Linked DNA regions of Homo sapiens: all the other regions are linked to region 1. The links are contacts of gene promoters, found by promoter capture Hi-C in human tissues and cell types (Jung and others, 2019). All regions are on one chromosome and are shown on one strand. Each heading gives the region's core, a stretch centred on a gene start or on the middle of the fragment in contact. The rest is flanking DNA. Distances are from core to core; before and after follow the strand shown.

Evidence for each region. Contacts are between HindIII fragments. The study calls those that stand out against the background at their distance.
Region 2: a fragment that was not itself captured here is called in contact with the fragment with the promoter of IFNB1 in region 1 in 1 of the 25 tissues and cell types used here (lymphoblastoid cells).
Region 3: a contact is called between a fragment that was not itself captured here and the fragment with the promoter of IFNB1 in region 1, in 1 of the 25 tissues and cell types used here (lymphoblastoid cells).

The regions. Positions count from the first base shown.
Region 1 is chr9:21,076,670-21,079,241 of GRCh38, forward strand. It overlaps IFNB1 (interferon beta 1), which reads right to left and starts at 1,273. Exons shown (of 1, transcript NM_002176.4): 1 at 435-1,273. The coding sequence starts at 1,200. The coding sequence ends at 637. The HindIII fragment of the contact is 10,658 bases long and covers 1-2,572 here.
Region 2 is chr9:20,616,089-20,618,660 of GRCh38, forward strand. All of the region lies in intron 2 of MLLT3 (MLLT3 super elongation complex subunit), which reads right to left. Among named protein-coding and RNA genes, the nearest start is that of MLLT3, 5.1 kb to the right of the region's middle. The HindIII fragment of the contact is 4,882 bases long and covers 1-2,572 here.
Region 3 is chr9:20,643,197-20,645,768 of GRCh38, forward strand. No RefSeq gene overlaps it. Among named protein-coding and RNA genes, the nearest start is that of MLLT3, 22 kb to the left of the region's middle. The HindIII fragment of the contact is 3,855 bases long and covers 1-2,572 here.

The sequences.
Region 1 (2,572 bases), core at 23-2,522:
TTATTTAAAAATCTTTCGAGGAGCAAAGTATCCCCCAAATAACGTGGGAAGGTTAGGGAGAACACAAAAGCTGACATATTCCTCTGGCTATTCCTGATGGCCAGCTCAATTCTAACTTTATGATGAGAGAATCTGGAGCACACAGTAGGAGGAATGGGAACCCCAGGTTTAGTTCCAGACCCTCCAGCTTTCCTTTTCTCTTTTAATCCCACAGCAGTTCATGCCATATTTATTCCCCCATAAGGTTCAGGTCCCCTTATTGTCTCTTACCTTATATATTCCACATGGCTTTCTTGAATTTTAAATTCCTTAAAGGCAGGGGCCAGAAAGTATACTACTTTGCAGGTATATTTTAAAAAGAACAACTAATAGGTACTTGGCAATTTTATAATATGGATGGTTATATAAATCAAATCGAAATTAAAACTGCCATGTTGACTTTTGCACCAAAAATAATTTATTTTCCAAAATAAAATTTAAATAAATAAAAATAACTCATAATTTAATAAAAATTTCAAAATCTTCTAGTGTCCTTTCATATGCAGTACATTAGCCATCAGTCACTTAAACAGCATCTGCTGGTTGAAGAATGCTTGAAGCAATTGTCCAGTCCCAGAGGCACAGGCTAGGAGATCTTCAGTTTCGGAGGTAACCTGTAAGTCTGTTAATGAAGTAAAAGTTCCTTAGGATTTCCACTCTGACTATGGTCCAGGCACAGTGACTGTACTCCTTGGCCTTCAGGTAATGCAGAATCCTCCCATAATATCTTTTCAGGTGCAGACTGCTCATGAGTTTTCCCCTGGTGAAATCTTCTTTCTCCAGTTTTTCTTCCAGGACTGTCTTCAGATGGTTTATCTGATGATAGACATTAGCCAGGAGGTTCTCAACAATAGTCTCATTCCAGCCAGTGCTAGATGAATCTTGTCTGAAAATAGCAAAGATGTTCTGGAGCATCTCATAGATGGTCAATGCGGCGTCCTCCTTCTGGAACTGCTGCAGCTGCTTAATCTCCTCAGGGATGTCAAAGTTCATCCTGTCCTTGAGGCAGTATTCAAGCCTCCCATTCAATTGCCACAGGAGCTTCTGACACTGAAAATTGCTGCTTCTTTGTAGGAATCCAAGCAAGTTGTAGCTCATGGAAAGAGCTGTAGTGGAGAAGCACAACAGGAGAGCAATTTGGAGGAGACACTTGTTGGTCATGTTGACAACACGAACAGTGTCGCCTACTACCTGTTGTGCCAGAGCAAAGGCTTCGAAAGGTTGCAGTTAGAATGTCCTTTCTCCATGGGTATGGCCTATTTATATGAGATGGTCCTCTCTCTATTCAGAGGAATTTCCCACTTTCACTTCTCCCTTTCAGTTTTCCTATGTCATTTACATTTTAGTAGTTTCTAAAACTCTTTATTTAAGCTCCTATCTTATGATATATATAATAGGGAAAAAGATTTACAAACTGTGAGGTTTTCTAATGTTTTTTAAAGTTTCAGTGAATGACTAAAGCAAATTGTAAAACAAGACTTGGGAGAAAGCAAAGGAAAGCAAACGACCTGAGAATTCAAGAACCTCAAAACACTAAAAGATACAGTTGGTCCTTCCTATCCATAGGTTCTGTATCCGTGGATTCTACTGACTGTAGATGGAAAATATTTTTTAAAAATACAATAAAAATAATAATACAACAACAAAAAATAATGTAAATTTTAAAGATACAGTGTTACAGCTATTTAGCATTTATATTGTATCAGGTATTATAAGTAATCTAGGGATGATTTAAAATATACAGAAATACATGTGCAGATTATATGCAAATACTGCAACGTTTTATAAGAGGGAATTGAGCATCCTCTGATTTTGGTATCTGTGGAGGCAGCGGGATGGTGGTCCTAGAACCAATCTTCTTTGGATACTGAAAGACTGAGAGATAGATTTACTGAAAAGTCAATCAGGGAATAGTAGCTGAAACTGCAAGGAGTTTTGCCCAATATGATAATAGATTAGTGTGAGAGGGCCTTGGAAACTTCTGAAAGGCACTGGAATAGTCTAGGGTATAAGAAATTTTCAAACCAACCAGTCACAGCCCTTTTGATCCTACACAGAGGAGAAACTGCCACAAGTGGAATCACACTTCAGCAGGATATAAACAACACAGACAAGGATAGAGAAGGCCCAACCAGGGTGGGATGGAGAACTCAGAAGGCAGGCTGCTATGTTTTTGACCATTTCACAAAAGCTAACAGAAGAGGGAGCTCTGTGAAGTTAGAAAAACCGCCCTGAACCACTTCCTGGTTCAGGAAAAATAAGCTCTTACAAGACCAAACAACAGAAAAGTATTAAGATGGAATCTCATACAAAGTTATTAATAGAAAAAAGAGAAGGCTTTGGGAAGATGGCTGATTAGAAGCAGTTGTGGTCTGTGGCACTCTGCTCTTTGGCCAGGATGGTCTGACTGCCCTGAGCCTGTCATGCTGTGAGAAAGCCCAAACTAGCTTACAAGGAGAGACCATGAAAATTGGCAGTGTATTTCAAAATTTAAAATTTCAAGCAATGAGATTGTTCCTTTAACTTGCAATAC
Region 2 (2,572 bases), core at 37-2,536, 460 kb before region 1:
TTCAATTTGTAAGTGTAAAAGGATCTTAAGCCCAATAAGTATGAAAACAGTTGATTTACATTTCAACCTCAACTTATGAGGTAATAGTTCTATTTTATCATCATTTCCATAATGCAAATGAGAAAAGAGACACAGAAGTAACTTGTCCAAAACCATACAAGGAGTCTCTTAAACCAACATTTGAATACAAGTCTGTAATTCCTAACCCTAAATTCTCTCCATCTTTAAGCAACAATATCTACCCAAGATATTAAAGATCACTTTTAGATCTTTAACTTTTAGATAGCTACATGCTAATCCCTATTTTTAAAACAATATTCTATATTGGTTTTTTATTCTTTTTCAGTTTTAAAAAGTTATGTGTGCTCATTGAATGTTTTAAATATACGGAGTTAACTTTAAAAAAAAATCAAACACTACAAAAATAACCTCCCATCACCACCACAAGTAGCTACTAAACTACTAGTAAGAGTTTGATGCCCGCTAATGCAAATTTACTTATTTACAGACATACACTTGTATAGACATACGTATACTTATCTGCACAAGCACTTTTTTGAAAAAATGAGATCACAATGATTTAGCAACTTGCCTTATTTCACTTAATTATTCTTGAAGATCTTCCTGCATCTACAAATAGATATACCTCTTTTTATAGATTATCATCATTTAATTGTATCCAGTTGAGGGCCCCTATATGGCTTTCTTCCAAATTTTGACTATTACAAAAACAGTCACAAGAAACATGCTGTATCTTTGTGTACTTGTGAGAACATATTTGTCAGAAAATTCCTAGAAGTAAATTTGCTAGGCTAAACAGTATAAACATTAAAAATCTTAATAGACCTTGCCAATGTTCTCCAAAATACCCCTGCCCGATTTACATTCTCACCCACAGAATATGAGATTTCCACCAACAATTCAGCTTTTAAGTGCCTTGGAAAATTATACTTTATGTGCTTCAAAATGCACAGCAGTAAAACTGTTCTCACTGGTCATCTAAATTTCATACAGAACCCTACACAAATAACACTCGCTGAATCTATCAGAACAGTCACTCATCTTCATTTTGTTCCTTATATCTTTTAAATGACTCTGAAGAGAAAATATACCAGATGCACACAACGTCTTCAGCTAGTAAGCCCTCAAGTATTAGTTACCTTGATAAAAACTTACCCAAATTATTTCAGAAGACCATTTAACACAAATCAAAACTATGCAGTAAAGCTGGCCTCATACACTTAAAGGAAAATTGTTAGAGTGGATTTATTAAGCTTTATCTGCCCACTCAAAGGACTAAGGCTACAAATAAAAAGCTATCAAATCCTACCAGTGGCCAAATTAGCTTCCATAAAATAATAAGCAACAGATTTCATATCATAAATGTCAGTGAAACAAATTGCAATAGTAAGGATGGCTGTAACTGGAAAAAAAGTTCACTCAAATTCACATCATACTAAAAACAAAAACATTAATATTTTAAAAGAAATGTTTTGAATGTGACTATTCATTTCAGTCATATCAGACTAGTACAAATCTTTGGTACTAATAAATAAGATATTGTCTTTTTTTGCAGGTAAATAGTTTAAAAATGCATCATACTCTGACCTACCTGTTTTGTCATGGCTAATAGACATTCCAGGCTTCACCATTTCATCAAAATCTCTTTTCTAAGATTTTGTGCCATTAGTTTTAAATTGAAGGTCTCCCACCCATCTTTGTGACAGAGTAAAACCTCATTAATTCAAATCCAATTAGCTCAATTCTGAAATGGTATACATAATTCTCATTAAGCAACAAGTTAAAAATACTATAATTTTTTCTCCTACAAATTCTAATATTACTGTGAAGTAAAGGAAATCAACCTGAAAATCAATTCACTTTTCCAAACCAAAGATTTACAAAACTAAGGACTCTTTCATCTTTGTGGCTGAGCAGTTCATCCTCAGTCCTAAGGCTCATCTCTGTTTAGCAGCTACTGTATACAGTGAAAGTGATTTAGATTGTCACTATAGCCAACACAGCTTATTTATTATAGAATATGAGCATTTCTTTTAAAGATCTTATAACTCAGATTTCTCACAAATTCATATTTTCAGTTTCTCCAATTTCCAATTGGTAGAATTTTACTCTATCACTTATAGATCTACAATATAGCTAACATAACACTTTAAAAGGTACTGGAAGTAGACATACAAATTCTTGGCATTCTTATTCTATATTTATTCTTATCATTTTGAAAGACTTTATAAGCCAAAAAATAAGTCCCAGGATTAAGTGGCATGTTTGGTGTTGCTTGAACTTACAACTATTCCCAATGAACAGAGAAACCTTCTCTTGCAATCTGAATCATGTGTAATTACAGTATGACAAGGTCTCTCCTGGGTGATGTAAGCTGGCACTTTTCCCAGGACTTGTCACATCATGGGAAGCACGCATACAAATAAAAATCCAAAAATAAACATTTTAAAACAATGGCTTATAGACTGCATAGAGAACCTCCACAGTTGAGTATAAAAATTGAGGAATCCAACCAACAAGCAGACATCTCTCACCAGAGACCTCTGAGAAG
Region 3 (2,572 bases), core at 25-2,524, 430 kb before region 1:
GCTTCCCATGGGGTTGAATGCAAATATGATAGTGAGGTCATTTTGACCACATGGATGAGGGTCGTACCCAGTGGCTGTCATACATTAAAAGGACCTCAGGTTCTCTAACCTACTGGGCCACCATATTATTCCTGGACAATATACACAAAATATTACATGAGAAATAACTCTTTATCTTATTTGAGTATTTTTTGTCTCTTGTTACCTCATTCTAGCCTTTATCCAAGCTAATCCAACTATTATTAAAACCAGGGGAGAATGTGACTAATGAGAAGTATCAGGAGAGTGTGGAATTGTGAAGGCTAGGGAAAAGGACAAGAAAAGAGTAGTCCACCGTGTTACAGGCTTTTCAAGGAGGAAAGGATTCATAAGGCATCACCTCAGGATGTTGAATTTTATTGTGTTTGGATCATTGTTACCTAATCACTTAACCACAGCACCGCACGAAGCAGCTCTATCTCACTAATTAGGCTAAGTCCAGTAAATTTCTTCTAATTTTTGTTTCTGATCTATTTTGGCTGGTGTGAATGTTAAGACTGAGTGTCAACTTGATTGGATTGAAGGATGCAAAGTATTGTTCCTGATGTGTCTCTGAGGGTGTTGCCAAAGGGGATTAACATTTGAGTCAGTGGACTGGGAGAGGCAGATCCACCCTCAAGCTGGTCGGGCACCACCTAATCAGCCGCCAAGCAGAAGTTGTAAACAGCAGACTTGCTGAATCTTCCAGTCTTCATCTTTCTCCCGTGCTGGATGCTTCCTGTCATTGAACATCAGACTCCAAGTTCTTCACTTTTGGACTCTTGGACTTACATGGGTGGTTTGCTGGGGGCTCTCATGCCTTCAACCACAGACTGAAGGCTGCACTGTCGGCTTCCCTACTTCTGAGGTTTGGGGACTCGCACTGGCTTCCTTGCTGCTCAGCTTGCAGATGGCCTACTGTGGGACTTCGCCTTGCGATTGTGTGAGTCAATTCTCCTAATAAACTCCCCTTCATATATACGTATATCCTAGTAGTTCTGTCCCTTTAGAAACCCTGGCTAATCCAGCTAGTAAACATGACTTTGTCTTGGCTAAAAATCTCACCAACACCTCTCATTCAAGAAGAATTTCATCGCTCTAATATTGTATTTCAATAGACACTATAAAAGGTGCTAGTATTGGATCCAGTTTAATTCCAAACTAATTAAGCTTGGACTAGAACCAACTGCAATGAATCAAAGCAATCAGCACCTTTTACCCAAAATTATACAGTAGGTTAATCTAGCAAAAGGAAAGAATACACATTTCAGGCCAGGGTCATTATGTTAGTCAATTATCTTTTTGTGCAGGGGACAGAGACTAAGGGATCATAGGGGAGGATTTATTGGAAAGGTTCTGAGATAGCTCACAGATTCTGAAGAACCAGGGCCGTTTTAGGGCCTTCAGTGACTACAACCAGAATCTTAATGCCACCTCTTTCTTCCTACTGCCTTCTTTCCCTCTGGCTGTCAGCTTTATGCTTCTTGCATATGTACACTTCTGAGAAAAGGGGATACATTTTATGCCTTTAAAGGTTCTAGAATGGGAATCTGGGTCAAAGAATATGGATCTTTTACAAAGTTCTTGATATGTTGCCAAATTGCTTTCTAAAAAATACATACTGGTTTAGACTCTTAATAGGAGTGTACGATCATGCTTATTTTTGAAACAACCTCACCAGCCTTAAATTTTGTATTTTCATAACTTTTCTAGTAGAATAAAATGATATATCATTGAAATTGTTAACTTTTTGTATTATAGCAGTAAAAGTGAATTGTTTCACATATTTATTGGTATTTATATTTCTGCTTCTGAGATTTGTCTGCACATTGTACTTTTTTCCATTGAAGTTTCAGTGTTTTCATTATTGATTTAAACTACTACATGCTTTTTGTCAGATATATTGAAATATTTTTCTACTTTATAATTTACCTTTCATGTTTTGATGGCTTCTGTTGTGTAGACTCGAATTTTTCATGTAGTCAAATATCCGATGTTGATTCCTTTGTGGTTTAGGCCATTGATTTTATACTTAGACAATTATTCCTTCAGCTCAAGAACAAGTAAATAGTTCCCTAAATAAACTCCTAGTTTTTTAACCTGCACTTTGGCAAACTTTTGCCATATTTCAGGCACATGTTTTAGTAGTCATTGGTTTGTCTTACAGTGAACACTTTTCACATTTAATATCTGGAATTTATTTTAGTATATATTGCAAGTTGACAATTTAACTTAAGTTTTCACAGTTAACCAACGTATTGAATGATTTTTCCTTTACATATTGCAATGTGATGTCAACTTTATTATTTACATCAGTTTTATAAGTAAGAGATAGTATATATTTCTGGCTATTTATTTTGTTTCAAAGATATGCTCATAAACATTTACACTAGTAATACTGTGTTTTATGTGCTGTTTTAATGTCTGATGGGGCAAGTTCTTGAATTAGGACTCTTTTGGTTAAAAGAAAGAAAAACTTATTTAAGTTACTTTAAGAAAAAGGGAGAATATCCATGGACCCTGTGCCCAGAGGCAAGGATCTCTTTGACAAGGA